Regions from separate parts of the Homo sapiens genome. Here all the other regions are linked to region 5. Evidence: promoter capture Hi-C in 16 types of primary human blood cells and fetal thymus (Javierre and others, 2016). All regions are on one chromosome and are shown on one strand. Each heading gives the region's core, a stretch centred on a gene start or on the middle of the fragment in contact. The rest is flanking DNA. Distances are from core to core; before and after follow the strand shown. Region 1 has its middle 79 kb from the start of OTOL1. Region 2 overlaps OTOL1 (otolin 1). Region 3 has its middle 52 kb from the start of OTOL1. Region 4 has its middle 360 kb from the start of OTOL1. Region 5 holds the start of SLITRK3 (SLIT and NTRK like family member 3).

Region 1 (2,700 bases), core at 187-2,686, 3.6 Mb after region 5:
GAGATCTGCTAGGAAATTATTCACATGAATTTAGATCTAATTAAACAATTAAAATCCATCAAGAAATTACTTCAAAACATAAGCAAAGCACAACACACCACACCCAGGGCAGTTAAGATGAGCTGAGACTAAATCAAGGCCATACTTGCCTAAAATAGATGGACAGAAATGAGTCTATATCACTTATCCTTTCTGCTGCATCGTGTCAGCAGTTGGCAAGGTATACAATTTTCAAGACTTCCTTGGAGATTGCCTTTGGAAAAAAAAAGTACTGGAGTACATAACTTTTAATCAAAAGTTACTGTGGAAAGCCTTTTTTACTTTCCACAAAGAAAGTTCGCTTTTAAATAACAATACTAGAGTTGTTGTTTATACCAATCCTTTCATCCAAGAGTCACATAATGCTATATAAATGTATTAATCCTCACAACCTTCCTGTAAAGCACAGAGGTAGCAGACTCCCCAGATGCGCATATTGAATTTTTAAAAAGCAGTTTAGTTGAATCAATAGTCTATTCAGAAAGGAAGGTTAAAAAGGCAGGCCTTGCACTGTGTCTTAATAATCAAAAGTCCACTAGGAATTTATTAGACTGTGACCAAAAGAAAAGAAAGAAAAAGACCCCTAAAGCTTTTACACATTGCGTATTTGGCTTATATTAAATGCTATCTTCTGTACTTTCAATGACATTGGAAGATAAAGGGTAATTTAATATTACTAACTTCAGCATGTTGCTATGTGAGTTTACAAATACAAACTGAACATTATCCAACCTTAAAATAACTCTCCTATAGGAAAACTGCAAAGAATCTGTGATTTCATTATGTTATTTTTTTAAAAACAAAAAATTATAAAAATTTATGTTGACTATTAGAAACATCAGAAAATATTCTGATATGTATTTGGGCAATATGTATCAGGAATCTTTAAAATGTTTATACTATTTATCCCTGTAATTTCACTTCTGAGGATTATTCTTATTTTAAGAAAGAATGTAAAATTCAAATAGAGATGTATTATAAGTTTTATAGCATTAGATATAAACTGTAAATTGGAAATATTTACAATACTTTACTAAACAAAAAGATTAAGTATTATCAATCTGACCCTTTGTACATTTATGACTTACTATATATCAACTATGTTCCAGGCACAAAAAATACAAAGACAAATAAGTCATATTTTTCTAAACATGATTCCTGCTTTATAGTGGGTTGCAGTCTAATGCAGAAAAAAAATACATGTAAATATATATGAGTTTAAGTACCCTGAGAAGGGATGTGCATGGTACAGTAGAGAGTCACAAGGGAAAGAGTGTTCAACTTTACAATGGGGAGATGAAAGTCAGGAAAGTTTTTATAAGGTTAACTTTTCATCTAAGTCTTACAATTTGAATACTGTTAGGCAAACAGATTGAAGATCACTACTATCAGTGAATAGGAGGAACAGAGAAGTGGGAGCCAGTACTCAAGGTAACAATATCATAGGACTGAATTGAGGTAGCAGCTCTGGAGAGGAGAGGAGGCAGCCATGGGTGGTACAAGAGAGGTTGTCTTTCAGGACTTTTTGACATGCTAACAGAGGTGAAGGAGTTAGAATGAAGGAGTGAAGCGGTTTCGCAAAACTTTGATTTTGGAAAGAGGAGAATGAAAGACAGAATCCAATAGAAGCAAAGCAGAGAGAAGAAAGAATAGTGGCATTCAGACATAAAGAGTTGGAACTGTCTGAGGAGCATCTAAGTGATCATAGCCAATGGAGAGCTGGGTCTGAAGGGTGTACTTGTGAGTAATGGACACACGAATTGTGGTAGGAGTCACAGGAGAGGATGAGTGCAAAGATTGAAAAGAGGAGCAAGGACTGAGTCCTAGAAGACACCAGCACACTAAGGATTGGGCAGAGAAAGTGTAGCCCTCCAAAAACTGGTTACACAGAGAGGTCAAGGTAAAACTGCAAAGAGGCCAGTGGATTGAGTGCCCCAGCTGTCAGTGGCACCAATTTCCAGAGCTCATTGTGCTACAGATTGTTGGAGGCAGAAGTCTAAATAGAATGGTTTCAAAAGTGAAAGACTGACCTCTTTCAAGAAGGAGGAGAAAGGGCAAGAATTAGAATGAGACATATGCTTAGAAAATATGTTTAAAATGAGAGATTGAGATTGAAGTGATTGAGAGGAAAAGATTAAGGCTATAAAAGAGAAAGGAGAAAAGAGGATAAATACTAAAATGAGGCAGCAGCCTTTCCTAAGCTTTTGACAAATTATATATTTTTGTGGGGAAAAATAATCTACATGACATTTTAGAGTGTTTGTTTGTTTGTCTGTGACGGAGTCTCGCTCTGTCGCCCAGGGAGGAGTGCAGTGGCGCGATCTCGGCTCACTGCAACCTCTGCCTCCCGGGTTCAAGCTATTCTCCTGCCTCAGCCTCCCGAGTAGCTGGGACTACAGGTGCCTGCAACCACACCCGGTTATTTGTGTGTGTGTGTATTTTTAGTAAAGACGGGGTTTCAGCGTGTTAGCCAGGATGGTCTCCATCTCCTGACCTGGTGATCTGCCCGCCTCGGCCTCCCAAAGTGCCAGGATTACAGGTGTGAGTCACAGCACGTGGCCCATTTTAGAGTTTTTAATAAGACAATAAGGTACTTAACATAAGTGAAAAAAGAGAAGGATATAAAATTGAATGTATTTTAGTATGTCGGCTTTGTAAAAC
Region 2 (2,741 bases), core at 23-2,522, 3.7 Mb after region 5:
TTTACCCAATACACAAGTCCATATAATATAAGTTTTCTAAGCAAACCTTTACACACTGATAAATTTTAAATATCCTTTAGCTAGTCTTTGCCACCCTTTCTGTGTCATCTCCATGAATTAAACTAACATGAGAATAGCTCCATTTTGTCAGAAGGCAACCCACCCAAGAGAGTCAAAAACTTGCTGTCATACTCTGCAATTCACACAGAAAGAAGTGACACACATTGATCTGAGATATAGAAGATATTTAGCAAGAATACATTTATTAATTATAAATCCCATTCATACTTTGTATACAAATATTAATTATTATGCTTAAATGGAATGACTAATGCTAATAATGCCAAATTTTAAAAGCTACCTACAAAGTTAATAGACATATGCTCTGAAATACATATAAATATTTTTAAAGGAGGTGCCTTAAAATAGGAATAATAATTGACTAGGTGACTTTTTAAATTTTTCTGTATTATTTTTATAATCTTGAAAAAATGGAAGTTATTTTTTAATAGCACTACTCTGTGTTAACTGACTTATTCCACTGAATCTAAACTACAGGATTCAGGACACAAATTTATGGTGAAATTCCAGAAGTTTCCTCTGGGTACAAAAGGAACCCAGTAAAAATGCTGTCATCCTCAGCACTGACATACACCCCATTCCAATCTTTTGACACCTCAAGCCAGACTTGGTCTCCTGCACTTAATTTCAAGATGACGAGGAGAGAGGCCTGGTCTATTTCCTGACCATAGAGAGTTTCTCTGGACTTGAACTGCTTCTTATTCTGGGCCACCAGACTGATTCGAGCAGGTCGCCCCCTCACCGTAATATGGTAGGAAAAAACATATGTCCCAGGAATAGAGCAGTTAAACTTCCCAGTGACAGGACTGTAATTCCCTTGGTCATTATAGAGAATCTTTTCAAATTTGATGGGGATGTTAGGAGGAGGAAATGGCTTTGACAAACCAGCGCTGAAAGCCGACCGGGGCACTCTAGCCAACTCACCCTTGGAGCCTTTAAAGCCCCGAGAGCCCTTCTTCCCAGTGGGGCCTCGGACCCCTTTGTTGCCAATGTCACCCTTCGGCCCAGTAGGTCCCAGGAGACCAGGAGGACCTAACTCTCCTTTTTCTCCTTTAATCCCTGGATCACCTTTGGCCCCAGGCAGACCATTACGGCCGCTTTTGCCTTCCATTCCACTGTCTCCTTTGCTACCTTTTTCCCCTTTCATACCCCCCTCACCTTTCTGTCCTTTTCCTCCCCTCTCCCCAGAATCTCCACAGCAGCCCTTATCCCCCATCTCCCCCTTCTCCCCCATCTCCCCCTTCTCTCCCTTGGCGCCAGGCCCTCCGTGCAGGCCAGGTGAGCCCATAGCCCCTTGGTCTCCTTTTTCTCCTTTGGTACAATTCCCACATGTGTCTCCCTTGGAGCCTTTTTGTCCTTTCACTCCTCCCAAACCAATGTTTCCTTTATCTCCCTTAGGGCCAGGTTCACCTGAAATGGAAAATTAAAATAATGTTTAAGGATCACATAGGCCATAAACAGCATGCTATTACCACAGAGCTCAAAAAAGTAGAAACAAACCTACTAATTAGGAAACCTGATTCTTTCCTCAGTAAAAACTGTGCACACTTAGGAGGCTCTGACAATGAATAATTTATATTATGCCATGCTCTTAGAAGGGGAATAGTTAATGTTTCCAAGAAACAGTGGCTTATATTCAGATGCCATATATCTAATTCTTTTTGTTTTTTCACTTTTAAGATAATAAAGAATATTAGGACTGTAGTTGTTCGTTGTATTCCATTACCCTTTGCATTTTGGCCTAACCCAGGTATTCCCCTAAATCCCCATATTGTCCATTCAAGCCTAAATTATTATTGGCAAGGAAACTGAGACCCAGAACGAGTGAGGGATTTTTATTTTCCATTGACAGCTAGAGAGAGAAGCAGAGCACAGATACTATTACCTGGTCTCCAAATTCCTAGACTGGTTCTCCTTCACTGAGTCAGTACACTGAATTATTAGAAGAATAACAGTAATTTGTATTTTCAGCTTACCTCTCTGATAATTTTAAATACAAGCAGGAAGAGAATGAAGGGCTATACTGCGCACCTGACTGTACACAGTAGATACATTTCATGCTCTACCTTGTGCTCCCGGTTTTCCTGGGTATCCTGGAACTCCTTGGTCCCCACGTTCTCCTTTGAGTCCTAAGATGATACCAAGATTAACTTTTTACCAACTACATCATTTATGATATATTTAATATTCCTCTCACAACCATGTCACATTCTAGTGTTTTCTTTAACCAAAATGGGCTAAAGTTAAATCGTGTGGAAAAAGAATGTACGCCAGGCACGGCGGCTCACTCCTATAATCCCAACACTGTGGGAGGCCGAGGCGGGTGGATCACCTGAGGTCAGGAGTTCCAGGCCAGCCTGGCCAACATGGTGAAACCCCATCTCTACAAAAAATACAAAAAATTAGCCGGGTTTGGTGGTGCACACCTGTAGTCCCAGCTACTTGGGAGGCTGAGGCACAAGAATTGCTTGAACTCAGGAGGTGGAGATTGCAGTAAGCTGAGATCACACCGCTGCACTTTAGCCTGGGTGACAGAGTGAGACTTGGTCAAAAAAAATGTATTGAGGGTCATTAGGAATAATTAATTTCAACTGGTAAACTATTTTAGCGATCTGGAGGCAGTGATCCCTTCAAACAGAATTCATCTTTGCCCTCAGCAT
Region 3 (2,700 bases), core at 143-2,642, 3.6 Mb after region 5:
GTAGAATATCCTTTTTGTAGGGAATACAAACTAAAGTGTATTAGAATGGTGAAGCATTGTGTCAGCAACTTACTCTAAAAAGGTTCAGGGAAAAAAAAAGTTCTTTGATTGGTGCAGATTTTATTATAAGCTTAAAATTGTTTTAAAAGATTTTTAAAGTAAAAGAGAAGAGAAAGGCGAAAATACAATATATGTAGCTTAGAGAAATTCCCTTTGCATAGAAAAAGGATTGGAAGAAACTACAGCTTGCTGAAGCATGTAGGAATGCAGCATGTATGGCCAAACACATGTATGTGATGAGTCATCTGTCTCATTGCCCTGTCAGGATGAAAGAACCTCTTGAGAATATTGCCTTACCCAAACACACATTTTAAAGAAAAAGAGATCTGAGGAACAGAGGACCAAAAAATAGTTGTTCATAGTGCTTATAGGATGCACCATTGTATTATTTTAAATGGTTCTAATGGACTTGACCAGCATTGTGTAATAGAAACCAAAAGCATGGAAAAGTATCTTTAGTCCAGGTGTGGTGGCTCCTGCCTGTAATTCCAGCACTTTGGGAGGCCAAGACGGGTGGATCACTGGAGGTCAGGAGTTTGAGACCAGCCTGGCCAACATGGTGAAACCCTGTCTCTACTAAAAATACAAAAATAAAAATAAAAATAATTAACTGGGCATGGTGGTACACACCCGTAATGCCAGCTACTTGGGAGGCTGAGGCAAGAGAATCACTTGAACCTAGGAAGCAGAGGTTGCAGTGAGCCAAGATCACGCCATTGCACTCCAGCCTGGGCAACAGAATGAGATTCTGTTTAAAAAACAAACAACAAAAAGAGTATATTTAATAGAATATTAAAGTGTGCTCTAATAATGGCTCAAAGCGTTACCACTGTTAGTTCTTGACCAGAAACAAAATCAGTTAAAGTTATTTTAATATCTCTCGTTCTTTTAGCCAAATAAAAGCAGCAAAACTAGTTATAATGGAGTTAATTGTCTTTTCATTGAAGTACTGGCCATGGCAATCTGACTTCTACTTACTTATAGAACCCTTATATCTGAAAAATTCCTTAATTACACACGTAGCTTATGCAAGGCAAAATCCAGCTGAATCTTCACATCTATTGCCACAGAAAGAACTTCAAATGACTTTCCATGGCTGAATAGGAAAACTGCCTGAAAATGCTGACCAAAAAGTTTCTTTGCTAATGGTAAAGAAATTGAAACAGATCCAGTAACGTTGTCAAGGAGACGGGAAAATAAATTAACAAAACAAAGTATAGTACAGTGGTTAAGAGCACAAAGCCTAGAGCCAGACTTCCTGCCTACAAATCTTAGCTCTACCACTGTAGAGTTGTGTGATCTTCGGGACATTACTTAACCTCTCTGTGCTTCAGGCTTCCCAACTGTAAAATGAGGATAATAACAGTGTCTACTCCATAGAGCTTTTGCAAGATTTAATGGGTTGTTTTATAGCAAGTGATTTAGATAGTAATTAGCTCATGGTAAATGATCAGTGAGTGCCAGCTATTATTTAAATTTTTATTATTTATCACTTTTGTATACAGTAGAGCTGTTGATCCCAAAACAGAATCCTAAAGCTATTTCTCTAGGGACAGCACATAAACTACCACTCTACCTTCTGATGTATTTTTCTTAGTCTTTTGAAAATGCTAAATCCTGCTAACCCAAAATAATTATTTTCCATACAAATATTAAAAATGAATTCTAATTTGGGAGGAATGCAGGAGAAACTAAAACCAACATATTTTAAATTTTTATGCAGAAAAAGCAGTTAAATAATTAATTCAGAAAACTCACATAAGATTCTTGTAAATACTTTTTATAAAGAAATCTTGTATTCATTTTCCATTGTATCTTTATACCAACCCTGTAAGACGGGGTAGGCAGATCAAGTAATAGCGTTTTTTTTAAGCTGAAGAAACCGAGGTAAAAAAAAAAAACGGTTAAGTGAATTTCCCACAACTACAAGGAACAGATGTAATCCAGTATTATCTGTAATTTGAATCAGAATCTAAATCCAAATCAAAGCACCGTGAATTGGAAAATTTATGTCATAAAGATTTGGTGGTTAACACACAACTTAGCATGGTTTAAGTTTGTTTCTAGACCACTGTTTGTTCAAGAGACATTTTTTTTCTTAACATAGGCTTTATCCAATCCTAGATATAATACTATCTTTAGAAAGACACCAACCAAAGTTTGCATTAAAGAGTTATTCAGATTCTTCCACGCTTCATAGCCAAGTATCCCAACAGATCCAGTAAAACCAAAGTTTACTCAAAGCAGGTCAATTTCATTGCTCCAAATGATTTGACTAGTTGTGTCAAAGCAAGGAAACCAAGTTAGTTTAGTGAAAAAGTTATACCAATAGTCAGACCAAACTGATCAACTTATGTTGTGTGTTCCTAGCTAATCTGGCTATCATCTGACTAGTTTGATGAATAAAGCCACTAAAAATGGATGATTCTATTTGTATGTGAAGAAAAATAGCAATAGTCTTAAGTTTCTCAGAATACTTTAACATTGATCTCAGACACTTGGGGGAACAATCATGTAAAATCAGATATGCTCTCCCACAACTATAAAACCTGAATAGAACATTGAGAGAGACTGAAAAGAATGAAAGAAGCTTTACTGTTTATATTAACAAAAGACTTCTCTATTAGCAATGTTGCCCCT
Region 4 (2,728 bases), core at 98-2,597, 3.3 Mb after region 5:
ATGAATACATATATAGAGTAAAAATAGATAAGCTTGCAAGGGAATAATACAGGAATGTGTTCACCTCAAAGTGAATGGGATGAATAGAGAATGAAAGGATCAGGATGCTACTTTAGCAGTAGCTAATTTATTTTTCTTAAAGAGAAAACTTTGAAGCTAATATGGAAAATATTAGCATCTTTTAAAATTTTGATCGTATACTCATGGGTGTGTGTTGCTTTCTTTGCTTGAAATATTTAATAATTACATATATATCTATTTTCAATTTTTTTAAATGATACACTAACTATTGAAACTTCTTCATTGCCATGTGATTGGTCAGGTACACCAAAATATCACTCTCTGTACATCTCTTCTTTGAGATTTAGTTTCTCCCAACCTCCAGTCTCCTGCCTGGGGGTTTGTCTGGCTGCCAGTATATTTGAAACAAAACACCTGTTCTCAGCACACTACCTCAACCTCTCCTTCCAATATGTCTGGCTTCTTAGAGTACAGAATGCAATTGCTCCAAAATATACATCAACCAGTTTTTTTGAGGGCCGGGCTGGACTAATAACTTTACTCTGTGGAATAAAGTAGATATCCAGGGATTCTAATAGCTCTTTCAGGCTTCCAAATAGTCCCTCAACCCCCAGTTGTTGTCACATCATTTATTTCCATCTTTCCATTGACCTGGTTTCTTGAATTTCTGAGTTATTCTAGGGTTTGACAGATGAATCAATTGGCATTTACTAGCACCACTCCCGCACCCCCACCCTCCGCCTGCCCCCGATATGTTTTTAGGTTTCAGCCTCTTCCACTTTCAGGTACTTCTCACCCAACTATGAACTTCCAATCTTAAAAATATATACTGCCGGGCACGGTGGCTCACGCCTGTAATCCCAGCACTTTGGGAGGCCGAGGTGGGCGGATCACCTGAGGTCGGCAGTTTGAGACCAGCCTGACCAACAAGGAGAAACCCCGTCTCTATTAAAAGTACAAAATCAGCCAGATGTGGTGGTGCATGCCTGTAATCCCAGCTACTTGGAGGCTGAGGCAGGAGAATCGCTTGAACCCGGGAGGCGGAGGTTGCAGTGAGCCGAGATCGCGCCATTGCACTCCAGCCTGGGCAACAAGAGCGAAACTCAGTCTCAAAAAAATAAAAAATAAAAAAATAAAAATGCTGGTATCCTGCCAACACTCACCCACTGTTACCTGCCCCCTATCATTCCCTCTGCTCTTGTGGATGTGGATATTTTTAAAAATGTAATTACTGTTATTTTTTATTTTTATATAAAATATTTTTGTATAGTACTACTAGATGCAAAGTTAAGAGAACGTTCTGAAATAAATCTAATAATAGGGTGTTGGAGCACCAATAAAATGTTTGCCCTTAGCTAAGACTTACAGGCAAGCAATGCTTCAAAGTCATGCATCTTAATATGTTTTAAAGTAAAAGAAGTAATGTTCCCCAGCAGATACTTAAGTCTTTTAAGTTTTTAAAGAAGTTCTGTTTAAATTCATTTTCTTCATCCCATTGTTTGATTGTCTTACAGACAGTGAGTTGGCCATTTTAGTGAGGGGTCCAATATATGATTTTCTTGGGGATATCAGAGTTTCCTTTCAAAGGCTAGATTAGGAGTTTCAAACTTGTGGTCTGTAGATCTAACAAGTATTTTGTTTGGTTTTTGTGTTAACAATAAAAATGAATATGCATTTAGGTGAGATGTGTCCCGTCCTGTTCACAAGGGATCCCATACTCCTGACTGCTTCAGTCCCCCCCTTAATTTGCATATTTATGTTATCTTCCTGAACCCTATAGGTAATTTGAGTTCATAATCCCTGTATGGAATTCTCAGTAAACTGAACCAGAGCCTTTCAAATGAACCCAGCCCTCAACAATGATAGGAAAAACTGCTAAGCATCTACATTACAAAGAAATCTGAAGTGATATCTTCCTTTTACAGACACTAACAAAATATAAAAGAAAAGTATGGGTTCGGTAAGTTACACCACAACTGCTTTTTACGAGTACTTTAGACAGTATCAGAGAAACACAGATGCCCTTTGTTCTTAATCCAGATTAGTTGACGAATCAGCTTTAAATATTTAGATATGAGGAAAATACTCTCTTTTTGTTTGGGTGGAACCCTAAGAGTTTCAGTTAAAAGCTGATGCTTTCACCTTGAAATGCCTGTCATCTCCTTTCAGGAGCTGGAGGGGGGCTCCCTGAGGAAAAGCCTGGCCAACAAAGCAAAGCCCAGTGAACACTCAAGTTTTATGAGTTCTTAATGGCTTGAATCACTTGTAGGTGTTTTTAATACCTGCTGTCAGTTTGGAAATGTTTCTCGCTTGGCAACTGGATAAGGATAATAAACTTGCCAAGCAGGCAACTAACTATGCAATCTATTGTTAAAAATATAAAATCCAAAGAAATGGAAAAGCTGTTTAGGTCTGTAGTTTCCTCTCACTAGCACTTTTCAGCCGTAATATTTTTTAAAACCACTTCCTGAAGTTTATTCCCTTATTAAAAGGATTATCAGAGAAGAAATTATGTGGTAATAATCTGGTGCTCTTTCTAAACAACAAAAAGGAGCAATATATGTGAGAAGATATTTATATTATGTGCTTTTAATAACTGTTGCTAGTCACAAACACTTATTTTAATTAAGGAAAAGCTTAGCAGAAGTAGGTTGTGATAAGTAACTGTGGCTAACCTTTTTCTTTCCAGAAAAAAATATAAAGATAA
Region 5 (2,700 bases), core at 24-2,523:
AGGCTACCTTCTATTCACTTTGGGAGTTAGTGGAAGACTGCCCTCTTTCCAACACAGTCTCTGATGAAAGGGATCTATTAAAAAGAATTGCGTTGGTTTACACTGCAGATTGAATGGAGCATTAAACGAATGACTGCATTAGTATGACTGCAGTGGGGGTAATGGTCGCCTCTGTAATGTTGTAATAATACTTTCACATACGTGTTATTACACGTATTAATTGTTCCAGTGTCCGTATCTAATTTATCGCGAAATGGTATCCAGCATCTCTCAGGCAAATGCCCCCCTCCCAACTCCCTGTGCCCTACAGTTTTATGCCCCCCGCCCCCGGCAAATGTAAACAGATGAGGAAATATGTGTACTTTCAAATCGTCACCCATGTATCATGAAGGTGGGGGATTACTGCAAATCACTTGGAAACCGCTCCCCGGAGGCGTTTAGCGATACCGCCCACCAATACAGCTCAGATGTTCTTAATTTGATCACCCTCCACCTTTTGGGCTGTAATTTTCCAAACAGGCATCTCTCTCATTTGCAAATAAAAGTTACAAATCAATCCACGGGTACAGAATGCTGACTTCCCGACACTCAATTTCACAGGGTGTCTCTTGAAGAGCTGCCAGGTTGTGACCGATAATGGGGGAGAGGGAAAGGCGGACAGCGAAAGCGAGAGAGAGAGAGCGAGAGCGAGAGCGAGAGAGAGAGCGAGAGAGAGAGAGACAGAGAGAGGAGAGAGAGAGAGAGAGAGAGAGAGAGAGACAGAGAGAGAGAGAGAGAGAGAGATCACTTGCTTCCTTGCTTCCTAAGCCGGGATTTTGCCTGCGATGCGCGGCGAGAGGACTGCGGCGGCTGATTTACACAGTTGGCGCGGAGGAGGGGCCGGGGGTGCGGGGGGGACGCGCTGGCGGAGCTCCGGCGATGGGCTGATCTGGGGGCTCCCGAGCGCCGCTCCCTTGGTGCGCGATTTGGGGGCGGCTGATGGATTTGCATTCAGGTTCCAGCCCTGCGTTTCCTATATTGACTCCTTATACACGACCTGGCGCTCCAGTTTAGGAGGAGACGTTGGTAAGTAACGTGTAATCCGATTTTAGTTATTTCCTAGGCCATTAAAGTGGCACTTTTAAAGCAGGTCAGTCTTAAAAGATGCCGCCGCCGCCGCCGCCGCGAGCGTCTCCTTGGCCTGAAACGTTCAGCAGTCCCCTCCCCCTCCCACCCCCCTCCCCCGCACCTTCTCCCGCTCGAGAAGTGAGGGTGCTTGAATGGTGAGCGGTCAGAGGACTCACTCTCTGCCAACGGTATCGCTTCACCTTCGTGCTTTGCCTGAGATCTCCCAAATCCAAGTGGAATTTGGTGTGCACAGCCATACTGTGTATTTGTATCTTCTCTCCCCCTCTCCTTCTTTCCCCCCACCTTCGCCGTCTGACCAATGCTGGGATCTGAGATCTAGTCGCCCCCTTCCTGCCTCCTTTCCGCCTCTCCCCACCCTTTTCTTCTCTCATCTACACGCCACCAACCCCCACTCCCACCCACCTAAAGGGCAAAGAGCAAAGACACCCTGGAAAAGCAAGGGCTAATTCCATCTTCTCGGATGGAAGGAGGCCTCGGGCAGGGATTGCGCTGTGAGTGACAACCTTTGAGGAAGAGAGAAAGAGAGAAATCCAGAGACTGAGCTCAGGCTCTCGGGAACAACGAAGCTCTCCACTGATCCAGAGCACCGAGATTTTAAATCAAAGGAACCTAGTCCTGGGACACTCACTCTGCCTGCCTGCCTACCAACCATCGAGGGCATAGGGAGCTGTGGTCGTGAGCTCCCTGTCGCTGGCATCGCCGCGCTAGGTGCGCGCCCCGCTCTCCCATTGGTATGCAGCGACCATTTCCCTGCAAGTCTCAAAGGTGGAAACATTTAAACGGATTACAAGCGTGATTCGGTAGCCTTTCGGAAAGTTGGTGGCCAGAAGAGGAGAAGCTACAAGGCTACAGTATGATGGATACAATTCAGCTTCGCAGAGAGTTTGCCCCTCCTGCTGGGTAGCCCCTCGCAGCAAACCTCGGAGATCCTGAGCGCTCTGCACCATAGGTACTCGCCGCCATCCTTTCCTACTTCGCCTAATTGAAACCAGTATTTCTCGTATGTAGGATGTGCATTGTAGAGCACATCGAGTTTGGCCGCGGTGTATTCTGTACGCTCACAGGTGCTAGGGGTTTGTTGCAGTTTTGAATTGGATCAGTTAGGTGTAAGGACGTTGGTGGAAGGAGGGGTACCGGAGACTAACATACCCTCGGACCTCTTTTCTGGGTGAAGACATCGTAAGTAACTCCAACAAATAGGCCAGGTGGCGGAGCGAAGGACCCCTCCCCCAGTGGAATGCTCGCTGGTGTTGTAAGAGGTAGAAGGAAAAAGGCTTGAGCTTTTAATAATTTTCCGTTTCTAAACAGACCATTGTGCGTTTCGCCTGACGACAGCAGATTAGAAAAGGCTCTATAGACGGCTCAAAGCTCTTCAGAAAATGAATGATGCAGCGTTTTAATTATTTGTTCTAGGGAAGATAGTTTTGCTTCCATATTGGAATACTTAATCTTAGATCTGAAAAAATTAGTGAGCTGTAAGATCCAGCAGTGGGGAGGAGGAAGTGGGAAGGGGGCACAGCAGGGAGAAAGGGCTTCTTGTCCTCCCTCTGGACAAACAAATGGCTCTGGGCG

What was found. Contacts are between HindIII fragments. The CHiCAGO score rates a contact against its expected background, and 5 or more counts as called.
Region 1: a contact is called between a fragment that was not itself captured here and the fragment with the promoter of SLITRK3 in region 5, in 1 of 17 cell types (endothelial precursors). The highest score is 6.4, in endothelial precursors.
Region 2: a contact is called between a fragment that was not itself captured here and the fragment with the promoter of SLITRK3 in region 5, in 1 of 17 cell types (M2 macrophages). The highest score is 5.4, in M2 macrophages.
Region 3: a contact is called between a fragment that was not itself captured here and the fragment with the promoter of SLITRK3 in region 5, in 3 of 17 cell types (endothelial precursors, M0 macrophages and M1 macrophages). The highest score is 11.6, in endothelial precursors.
Region 4: a fragment that was not itself captured here is called in contact with the fragment with the promoter of SLITRK3 in region 5 in 1 of 17 cell types (M2 macrophages); the score reaches 5.3 in M2 macrophages.

What each region holds. Positions count from the first base shown.
Region 1 is chr3:161,574,033-161,576,732 of GRCh38, reverse strand. No RefSeq gene overlaps it. Among named protein-coding and RNA genes, the nearest start is that of OTOL1, 79 kb to the right of the region's middle. The HindIII fragment of the contact is 1,612 bases long and covers 631-2,242 here.
Region 2 is chr3:161,501,776-161,504,516 of GRCh38, reverse strand. OTOL1 (otolin 1) reads right to left here. Exons shown (of 4, transcript NM_001080440.1): 3 at 2,148-2,210; 4 at 575-1,491. The coding sequence ends at 575. Among named protein-coding and RNA genes, the nearest start is that of OTOL1, 6.3 kb to the right of the region's middle. The HindIII fragment of the contact is 6,905 bases long and covers 1-2,741 here.
Region 3 is chr3:161,547,057-161,549,756 of GRCh38, reverse strand. No RefSeq gene overlaps it. Among named protein-coding and RNA genes, the nearest start is that of OTOL1, 52 kb to the right of the region's middle. The HindIII fragment of the contact is 2,520 bases long and covers 133-2,652 here.
Region 4 is chr3:161,859,562-161,862,289 of GRCh38, reverse strand. No RefSeq gene overlaps it. Among named protein-coding and RNA genes, the nearest start is that of OTOL1, 360 kb to the right of the region's middle. RefSeq lists an enhancer at 1,936-2,502. The HindIII fragment of the contact is 2,625 bases long and covers 35-2,659 here.
Region 5 is chr3:165,194,957-165,197,656 of GRCh38, reverse strand. It overlaps SLITRK3 (SLIT and NTRK like family member 3), which reads left to right and starts at 1,273. Exons shown (of 2, transcript NM_001318810.2): 1 at 1,273-2,077. The HindIII fragment of the contact is 7,642 bases long and covers 1-2,700 here.